Linked DNA regions of Homo sapiens: region 1 is linked to region 2. The links are contacts of gene promoters, found by promoter capture Hi-C in human tissues and cell types (Jung and others, 2019). All regions are on one chromosome and are shown on one strand. The core of a region is centred on a gene start or on the middle of the fragment in contact, and the rest is flanking DNA. Distances in the headings are between cores, read along the strand shown. Region 1 has its middle 9.8 kb from the start of SLC22A11. Region 2 holds the start of SLC22A12 (solute carrier family 22 member 12).

Region 1 (4,572 bases), core at 900-3,399, 45 kb after region 2:
CTTCAGGAACTCAAAGGGTCTACTGGGAGCAAGACAGAATTAGTGTTGGGGACTTAGCACCCACAGAGTAGCCTCCACTCAGTGACTGTCGGGACCTGGTGGGTCAATACCCCAGCTCCCTGGCCCAAGTTGCTCACAACAGTAACTTGCTTGATGCCACACCCGTTGTTGACTTTCTTCCATTCCCCATCTCATTTCCCCTACCAGTGCCTCCTGGGATCGCCTCCCAAATAAATGACTTACATTCAAATCTTTATTTCATATTGGCTTTGGAGGGGACCCAACTTAACGCAGGGTTCCCAACCCTCTTTGGTGGGGTGCGACAGCTGGTTAGTGGCAGCCCTGCAATGACAAGCCTGCCCCCTGCTGATCACTGGCACCACCCCCCGCCCCGGTCATGCTCAGGACAATTGCACGGGTGGGTGTCTGGTGGGGTAGTGAGGCTCAGAGAAGTTAAATGGCTTCTCCAAGCGCAACGGCAAATGCACTTAGTTCTGAAAATTGTTTCCCAGCAATTTCCTTCCACCTAACAGATACACATCTGAAAGTTGTGAAAGAATTCATCATCGTGTCAGCTCCACAAACATGTATTAAAGGTGTACAAGGTTCCAGGCCCCATGCTGGGCCCTGGAGACCCAAGGTGAACCAGCAAGGAGGTTCGTCCAGTGGGGAGACGGATGTAAAAACCACTGCATCAGGGCTGATCATGCAATATCAGCCAACCCAACACACCACAAGACAAAGGCCAGAAACATAACTAGGAAGTACAGAGAAGAAAGAGCTGAGAGAAAGCACCGGTTTGAAAGGGTGTGGGGAGGTGAGGATGGGTGTTCCGGGAGCAAGAACAGCACATGCAAAGGCCCCAAGGCCAGACCAGGAAAGATGGGGGAGGAGGGTCTGATTACTAGGAGAATGTCTCAGGTGGATGAAAATGTAAGGTGGGCTCAGATGAGACAGGGCTACAGAGAGGAGAACCAGGAAGAGGCTTTTCCTGGCCTGAACGGGGCACAGACTGTGGAGATGGTGAGGAGAATGTGAATTCAATACATTTTAAAGAGGTGGGGAACAGGCACAGTGGCTCACGCCTGTAATCCCAGCACTTTGGGAGGCCAAGGCAGGCAGATCTCTTGAGGCCAGGAGTTCAAGACCAGCCTGGCCAACATGGTGAAACCCCATCTCTACTAAAAATACAAAAATTAGCTGGGCATGGTAGCACTCGCCTGTCCCAGCTACTTGGGAGGCTGTGGCAGGAGAATTGCTTGAATCTGGGAAGTGGAGGTTGCAGTGAGCCCTGATCGTGCCACTGCACTCCAGCCCAGAGGTGGATGGGCAGGGACTGCCTAGAGTGCCTCATGGTCCTAGCAAAGTCTCACCGGCTCTTGTGGCGATCTCAATGGCATGCACAGAGTTCCAGAACTTCAGAGCATCTCTTTTTGGTAAGGGGGCAGCATCCTGACCTCCACCCGCCGAAGCACACGCCTGTCCTGGTCACATGCTGGATTAACCTGTAAGCCTATTAACTATGGCTCAGCATCCTTCGCTACCTTGAAAGGAGCCCCAGAGCTCCCTGGTTAGGGAGACAGTTCCCAGCATGGTCCCGAGGATGGCCACATCTGACCTGGCCCTGAGCCACTGTCATGGGCAGCAGGGCATGACTCTCCAGTTGCCTGGAGACTTTACCTTGACCCTGAGTGACCTGAGAGAGCCAAGCCCGATGGCAGCAGTGACTGCTGCTGAGTCATCTGGCCCCCAAGACACCCAAGGGTCCCTGGGCACCCACCCTGTGTTAGCTTCCTGCGGAGGTCTCACTCAGTGCTCACGAGGACCCTACTACAAGCTCTGAAGCCCCAGGGCTGTGTGGACGGCTACAGAACATCATCTGACCCAGGCCTCCCCCAAGAACAGAGCCAATCCCCAAAATTCTGAAGAGAGGTCTTCCCTGACCAAGTCCACAGCTGCTGGGTTGTGTCCTGTCCAGGCAAAGCCACCTCCCAGCACTTTTCCTCTGGAGCAGCATGAAGGGCAGTGGGGGACCTGCAGCCCAGGCTGACCTGCAAACCGGCCTCCAGCCTGCCCCTGGGCCTGGGGTTGGGACAGGGCCTCTTTCAGAGGCCTCCGGAGCAGCAGTTCCTGGTGGGTTCCCACAGGTGCCCCCAGCACCCACAGGACAGCATCAGGACATGGCAGGAAGCTGGGGCTTCCCTCTACCCTTGCTACTCAAAGTGTGGTCCATGGACCAGCAGCATCAATGTCACTTGTGAGTTCTTTAGAAAGGCAGAATCTCAGATCCCAACCCAGACCTCCAGAATCAGAATCTGCATTTACTAAGAGCCCCAAGTGATCTGTGTGCCCACTGAAGTTTAAGACGCCCTGGCCTTGACCATTCTCCACAGCCACGACTATTCCACACCTTCTATCTCCTCGGAAGGGGTTTCCAAGAGGGACTTTATGTTTATTTCCATGGCAGCCTCTCCGTCGAAATATAAGCTCCTTGCAGATGGGAACGCATATCACTAAACCCCTTGGTGCCTGAGCCCTGCCTGCACACTGGAGGTGCCTACTCAGTGCTTGCTGAATAAGCGAGGGGATGTGTGTCACCATGCAGGCTGGCAGCGCGCCATGGCCAAGTCCATTCCTATCCTCTGCATCATCAGGCAATGGAGCAAGGAACGGAGTGGCACGTGAGAGCAAACAGACGTGCCGCCCCTGCCACAGCGCACTAGGATTTGTTCTTTGCGCAGACAACTGGAGAGGCAGAAGCCTGGGGGCATACGTTCTCCCCAGCCCCCCTTCCCACTCTTCCTGACATATGCGCCCTTGCCCTGGCGGCAGGTAGACTTCAGACCCTTCTCTTCATTGGTCTCAACCTAGCTACAGACTGAGTTCACTCAGCCACTTCTTTGCCAACTAAGGATCCTGCCCTTAAGGAACCTACTGGGTGACATCGCCCAAGAGGTGCAAGAACCCGAAGCTCTGGGTCACACAGGTCTCCTGGGTCAAACAGCTCTCTGTTTTCCCAGGGACATGGAGGGGCTCACGGTTCAGGATGGCTAGTGGGGCACTCATTTACCTCCTCCAACCAAATCCAAGTGGATCCAGAAAGGAAATAGTTTGGCAGTCCCAGAGCAGCATGGGAAAGGTGAGAAATGGAAAACTAGGGAAAGAATCTGCATAAGACATAAAGATCATGGGACAGATGGACAATGAAACCTCAGACCAAGGGACCTGCACCACATGCAGGAGGGAAAGGAGGCCCAAACACCTGAGCCTTCCTAGGAGGACAGCACTAGGTGAGAGGCTGCAGTGTGGGCACAGGCCAAGAACATCTGGGTAATTAACAGCATCAGGGTGAGCAGATTGACTGTGCCCCACCCTCCCTCCACCAAACACCACTTGGCATTGAATTCCATGTTTGCCTGGAGGTCAAGGTGCAAGAACAGCTAAATGGAGTTCTGAAACTGCATGGTAGGCCAGAGAAAAAGGGCAGCACCCCAGGCAACTTAAGGATCCCATGGGGAAGCAGAACCCTTTACTCAGAAAATCAGATCCACCAGTGCCTCCTGGCCACAGGCCTCTTTCACTTGCCCACACGTCACAATCACTGTAGACAGGGTTCTCCAGCACAAAGCTTTCATGCATGGCTAAGCCAACAGGAATTCCCACTTAGCCTGAGGAAGGACATTCTAGGAAACAATTTTGTCCATATCCCTCCCCCCACCATCTTCAAATATGAAGAGGCAACAAAGAAACACTAAAAATGCAAGAATCCAATGCACCAAAAGAGAGACACCAAACTCAACAAACAAAAGAACCAACACAGGAGGACGATGAAGTAATGCAGTAAACAGAAGAAAAAGGTAAAACCGCTGTAGTTTCTATTTCCAGGGAAATTTGAGAGGACATCAATTTTTTAAAAGAAATAGGTTCCCGAGAAAAGGAAATCTTTTCAGTTTTGGAAATTGTCAACTTGATGGGCAAATTCTGAAACCACTAATTAATAGATTGAATAATGAGGGGAATACAGTGACCTGGAAGTTCATGACAAAGGAGTTTCCTGGAACCCAGTGCAAAAGCACAAAGAGTTGAAAAGGAAGAAAAGAAAGGACCTCTGAGCTGAAGAAGATGGAAACGTTTAGACTGCAACATCCCAGTAGCTTTGGGTAGCAAGGATGAAAAATTGGCACATGCCTGGTGAAATGTCTAAACTCCAAGAATGGAGGTAGGTTTGTACATTAAATGTCCACCATAACTCTTGCAATTTATAGGTTACCTTGGCCTTCATTCATCTTTTTCCTTCCCTTCCCTTCCCTTTCCTCTCTCTCTCTCTTTCTTCCTTCCTTCCTTTCTTTCTCTCTTTCTTTTTCTCTTTTTTCTTTCTTTTTCTTTTCTTTTTTCTTTCTTTCCCCTCCCTTCCTTTCTCTCTCTTTCTTTCTTTTTCTTTCTTTCTCTCTTTTTTCTCTTTCTTTTCTTTTTTCTTTCTTTCCCCTCCCTTCCTTTCTCTCTCTTTCTTTCCCCTCCTTTCCTTTTCTTTCTTTCTTTCTTTCCTTTCTTTCTTTCTTTCCCCTCCCTTCC
Region 2 (4,676 bases), core at 645-3,144:
GAAATCCTCTACAACCCCCAGAGTAAAGTTGGTGAACTCGAGGTTCAGAGAAGGTTCCAGACCTCCCTACCTGGCACGGCTGCAGGGTGGCTGGTCCGAGACCCACACCCAGCAAGTAGGGCGCTTTCTAGACTTGGTTTTGTGAGGCTGGTTTGGGGCCAGTCGGCCAGGGTCCTAGGAGAGCAGGGGTTGTGAGGGGAACTGGGACCTGCCTGGACTGGGGGTACTCACCTGTCTGAGGCAGGGCCGCACGCAGCAGCTCCCACCAGAATCCCAGCCAGGTAGATGGACTGGGCCATGGGCTTCAGAGCATGAGAGTCACACACGAGGTTCCACTGATGGGAGAGGAGGAGGCTGAGCTCAGGAGGTTGGGAGAGCCCCAGCAGAGAGGCAGAGGAACCGCATGGGAGGGCCCCCAGGGAGCTGGGTGCGGTGGGTGGTCTGGTGACCTCTAGGGTTTTAGAGCAAGACCCTGTGGAACAGTGAGGGCACCCACAGGCATAGTTTGGCCTTTTGAGGAGTATATCCTGCCACCCTCTGCCTGAACTCTTCCATGGCTCCCTATTGCCCAATGGGTCTCTAGCCACATCTGCCCCTCTCTCCTGTCTCTCCACTTGGAAGCAGCCACCCAAGCTGACACCCTCACCCCTCTCCCAGAGGTTGCTTCCCTCCTGTTCTTTATAAAGAGGTTCTTCCCACTTGTTGGGATGAGCTGCCCCTCTCTGCTTGCCTGGCTTTGCCTGGCGCCCCATCTGGGAGGCAGCCTGGGGTAATCCCTTACTCTGTGTGCTTTGGTCTCGGGGAATCCAGTGAATTGTCACTGAGTCCCCCTGCTGCTGAGTTGCCTGGAGTCACGGCTGACAGGTCAGCAGGGCCAGGACAGGGTGAGGCCGGTGAGTGTCCAGGTGCCAGCATTTAGAGGTGCCCGCCCAGGTGCCCCCCGCACCTCCAAGAGCCTGGGCTGGCCCCATTTGTAGACTGATCCCTGCCGCCCACTTCCCTGTGTGTGGCTGACGAGGGGCTGAGAGGCTCGAGAGTGAGTGGGGCCTGGGGAGGTGGGTCCCTCCCAGGACTGGACCTTTGAGTCTGACCCACCGTGATCCATGACTGACCTCCAAGGTGGTGGGACTCGAGTGGCTCTGGGGGAGGCCCTACCTTGGCCACGATTGTGGAGGTGAAGATGCTGCGGTCATAGACCCAGCCATCCACACACGGCTCCGTGTCGGCCTCGCTCCAGCTGGTGGCCGTGGCATTGGGGTCCAAGAGCTGCCACTGTGGCTGGCGGAAGCGGCGGCACTGGTGGGGCCTCTGGTTGGGGCCCGGCGGGATGGAAATAGCCAGGAGGGCCTCAGGACTCAAGCTCCCTAGGATGCTGGCCTGAGCCGTGCTGTTGTCCAGGAGGGGTGCCCAGCAGCGGTGGCTGGGCACGGCGGCCGAGAAGTTCTCCAGCATGCTCTGGGTACACAGCCACATGATGGAGACCATCAGAGCCATCGTCTGGAGAACCTGGAACCTGCCCAGGCCACCCACGAGGTCCAGGAGTTCAGAAAATGCCATGGAACCTACTCAAGGGGCCCAGAAGAGGGGCCCACTTCACAAAGGCTGGCCCAGGGCAAAGAGGCCAGGGCAACGGGCCTGTTTCCCCCACGGTGGTGCCCACAGTGGCTTCTCCAGCCCAGCGGCTAGGCTTCACAGACTCGGGGCCGGAGGCTCAGGCTCTCTGGTCATCTGCCTGCTGGTGTCACTTGGGGTGGCTCCAACTGGGCCCTGAGGCCGCGTGAGGTGATTCCGAGACCTCCAGCATCTCCCCAGAGAGGCAGCTGCTCCAGACCTCCCGGGAAAGCTGAATTTGGAAAGTAGGGAATGTGGAGACTGAAGACTTTAATTTTAGACTGGAATTAAAGTGTGACCGGTGACACTTATGGAATCGAGTTTAGCAATCATTTCCTTGGTCAAAGTTTAACCCGCGTTGAGGCAGGCACAGACGCGAGGGAGGTGCAGCCTCCTCTGCTTGGGGGCCAGGGCCGGCCTGCTCTGTGCCAGGTCTTGGGGAGGCCTAAGTTTTTCTCCTGGCGGCTGTGGGATGCCAGGGCTGCCTGCTCCCTTCGGTGCCCCTGTGTGCCCACCTCCCAGAGTGGCTGAGCCAAGAGAAGGTGGGCCAGGGGATCCCCCTAATTTGGGGCTGGGGCAGCTGTGCAAGTCTCTGTGTGGGCTTGGGTCACTGGCAGCTGCCCAGCCCCTGCGCCTCCCAGGCTGTGTGGCCTGGCCCCACCCGTGGCTCCTGCCTCCACTCACCTGCTGTGGTTGGCGTCCTGTGCCCGCTTTGCTGTTACCCTGTCCTGAGTCCTCGGTGGAGCTTCCCAGCATCAACAGACACCCCACAGACTCCCCAGGTTCGGTGTGCCCAATGCCACCCTGAGATCTCTGTCCCCTCCCCAAATCTATGCCTCCTGCAGAGCCCCACCTCAGCTATGGCCTCTCATGTCACAGTGTCTGGCCTGGAACCCAGCGTCTTGGTTCACGCCTCCTGCTCCCTGCCTCCCAAATCCACCAGGGGCCAAGCCTGGCTAGTTTTGCCTCCTAAGGATTTCTCTCTCCCACCTCCCCCACTCCACAGCTGTCCCTGCCCTTGTCTTTCTGCCTCAACTCCTGCCCCTGGACCCACCACGCACTGCGAGCCCTTGGGTCAAATCCTGCTTAAAAGCCAAGGGGCTCCCAGTCAACAACAGCTAGTGGTGACTTACTAGGGCAGGTGAGTGGACAGCAGTGTGTGCTGATGCAGGGTGTGGGGTTCAGGAAAGGCTGGACCGAGGCCAAGAGAACCCCCTTGGTCTCGATAGCTAATTCTGTAGGCGAAAGGGCCAGAGAACACAAAGCAGTTAAAAAGTGTGTGTGCATGGCCGGGCGTGGTGGCTCATGCCTGTAATCCCAGCACTTTGGGAGGCCGAGGTGGGGGGATCACTTGAGGTCAAGAGTTCAAGACCAGCTTGGCCAACATGGCAAAAACCCATCTCTACTAAAAATACAAAAGTTAGCTGAGCATGGTCGTGGTGCACAGCTGTAATTCCAGCTACTTGGGAGGCTGAGGCAGGAGAATCTCTTGAACCCAGGAGGCAGAGGTTGCAGCAAGCTGAGATTGCACCACTGCCCTCCAGCCTGGTTGACAGAGAAAGACTCTTATCTCAAAAAAAAAAAAAAAAAGAAAAGAAAAAAAAGAAGTGTATGTATATGTGGGTGTGTGCACATGTCTGTGTATGTGTGCACATGTGTTTGCACAAGTGCATGTGTGTACATGTGTGCATGCGTATATGTGCAGTGCAGCAGTGATGGCAACCCAGGTGTTTGCTCTTATGAGCTTTGGGCATAAAACTCTCCATTTGAGGCATAAATGCCCCTCCCATCTGCTTCTTTTTGCTTCACCGACTCTTCCCGCTGCCCCTCCACATGGCTTACCAAGCCAACTTCTTTGCCTCCCTGGGCTCTGCACCTTGAGTCATCCACTGCTTCCACCACATGCCCTGTACATGCTTTCTCAGTTCCCACCCTTGCTTATGTTGGACCTCCAGCCTGGAATGCTGTCTCCAGGCTCACCCTTAGGCCACATACTGTGTGGAATGGGCACAGTCCAAATACTCCTCCTCCAGCGGGCTCTCTTCACTTATTCCTGCCTACAACTAGGGCTCAGAGTTGTCAGTGGAATCTCATCTTTACACTGTCCTGCATTCTTCTCAAACTCCTGACCTCAGGTGATCTGCCTGCCTTGGCCTCCCAAAGTGGTGTGAGTTGCGGCACCCAGCCATGACCTGCATTCTTCTATTATGGTCCAGTTGGTCTTATTTCCAGTGAGCTCCTGGTAGTCTGGAACCCTTCTTTAGAGGCTCTTTGGAACTGATTTGGACAACAAATAAAGGTTCCATGGAGACTTGCTGAAGTGCATGGATGATTTTTTTAAAAATTTCATTTATTTTCTAATTATGAAATAATTTACACACTTCCTCAAAAATTCAGAACATATTGAAATGAAAATAAAGATCCCTCATATACTCATCAACCAGTGAGTTACACTACTGTTTACAGTTTGGTGTAAATATGTGCAGACTTTGTTTTAGTAACTGATATGTTTAGCTTCATCAGCTTGAGCTGCCAAATAAGCTTTACATTTCCTTTTGTAAAATCCAAAAGAAATACCTCTGCCTTTTAATTAGCGATTTTAACCTGTTCACATTTATTGTAATTATTGACATGTTTGGACTTACTGTATGTTTTCTTGTTTACCACATTTTCCCTTTAAATCTTGGTTTCCTTGTTCCTAATTTCTACTGAATCCATTAAGTTTTCTTGTTATATTCTTCTACTGTCTTGGTCTGTCAGTTGTACGTTTTATTTCTGTTACCCTTATATTTGAACACACAAACCAGGGGTTATTTGATACCATCTTCTCTCTTCAAACCTACCACCTTCTCTTCTATCCTCTCTCTCAATAGATGACCTTTTTTCTTATTTCACTAAAACAATAGAAGCCATCAGAAGCCAACAGTCTAATTCTCTCACCAGCTCACCTGCCTTGGTGCCCCCACATTCTGCCTTCCTTCCACCCAGTTTGGTTTCTCTCTCATCCATGCCAACCCCTCACTGTGTGCCTAGAGCCCACCCCCCTTTGCCTGCTCACATCTCTC

The links. Contacts are between HindIII fragments. The study calls those that stand out against the background at their distance.
Region 1: a fragment that was not itself captured here is called in contact with the fragment with the promoter of SLC22A12 in region 2 in 1 of the 25 tissues and cell types used here (liver).

The regions. Positions count from the first base shown.
Region 1 is chr11:64,543,887-64,548,458 of GRCh38, reverse strand. No RefSeq gene overlaps it. Among named protein-coding and RNA genes, the nearest start is that of SLC22A11, 9.8 kb to the left of the region's middle. The HindIII fragment of the contact is 7,372 bases long and covers 1-4,572 here.
Region 2 is chr11:64,588,438-64,593,113 of GRCh38, reverse strand. It overlaps SLC22A12 (solute carrier family 22 member 12), which reads right to left and starts at 1,894. Exons shown (of 10, transcript NM_144585.4): 1 at 1,156-1,894; 2 at 232-335. The coding sequence starts at 1,557. The HindIII fragment of the contact is 41,401 bases long and covers 1-4,676 here.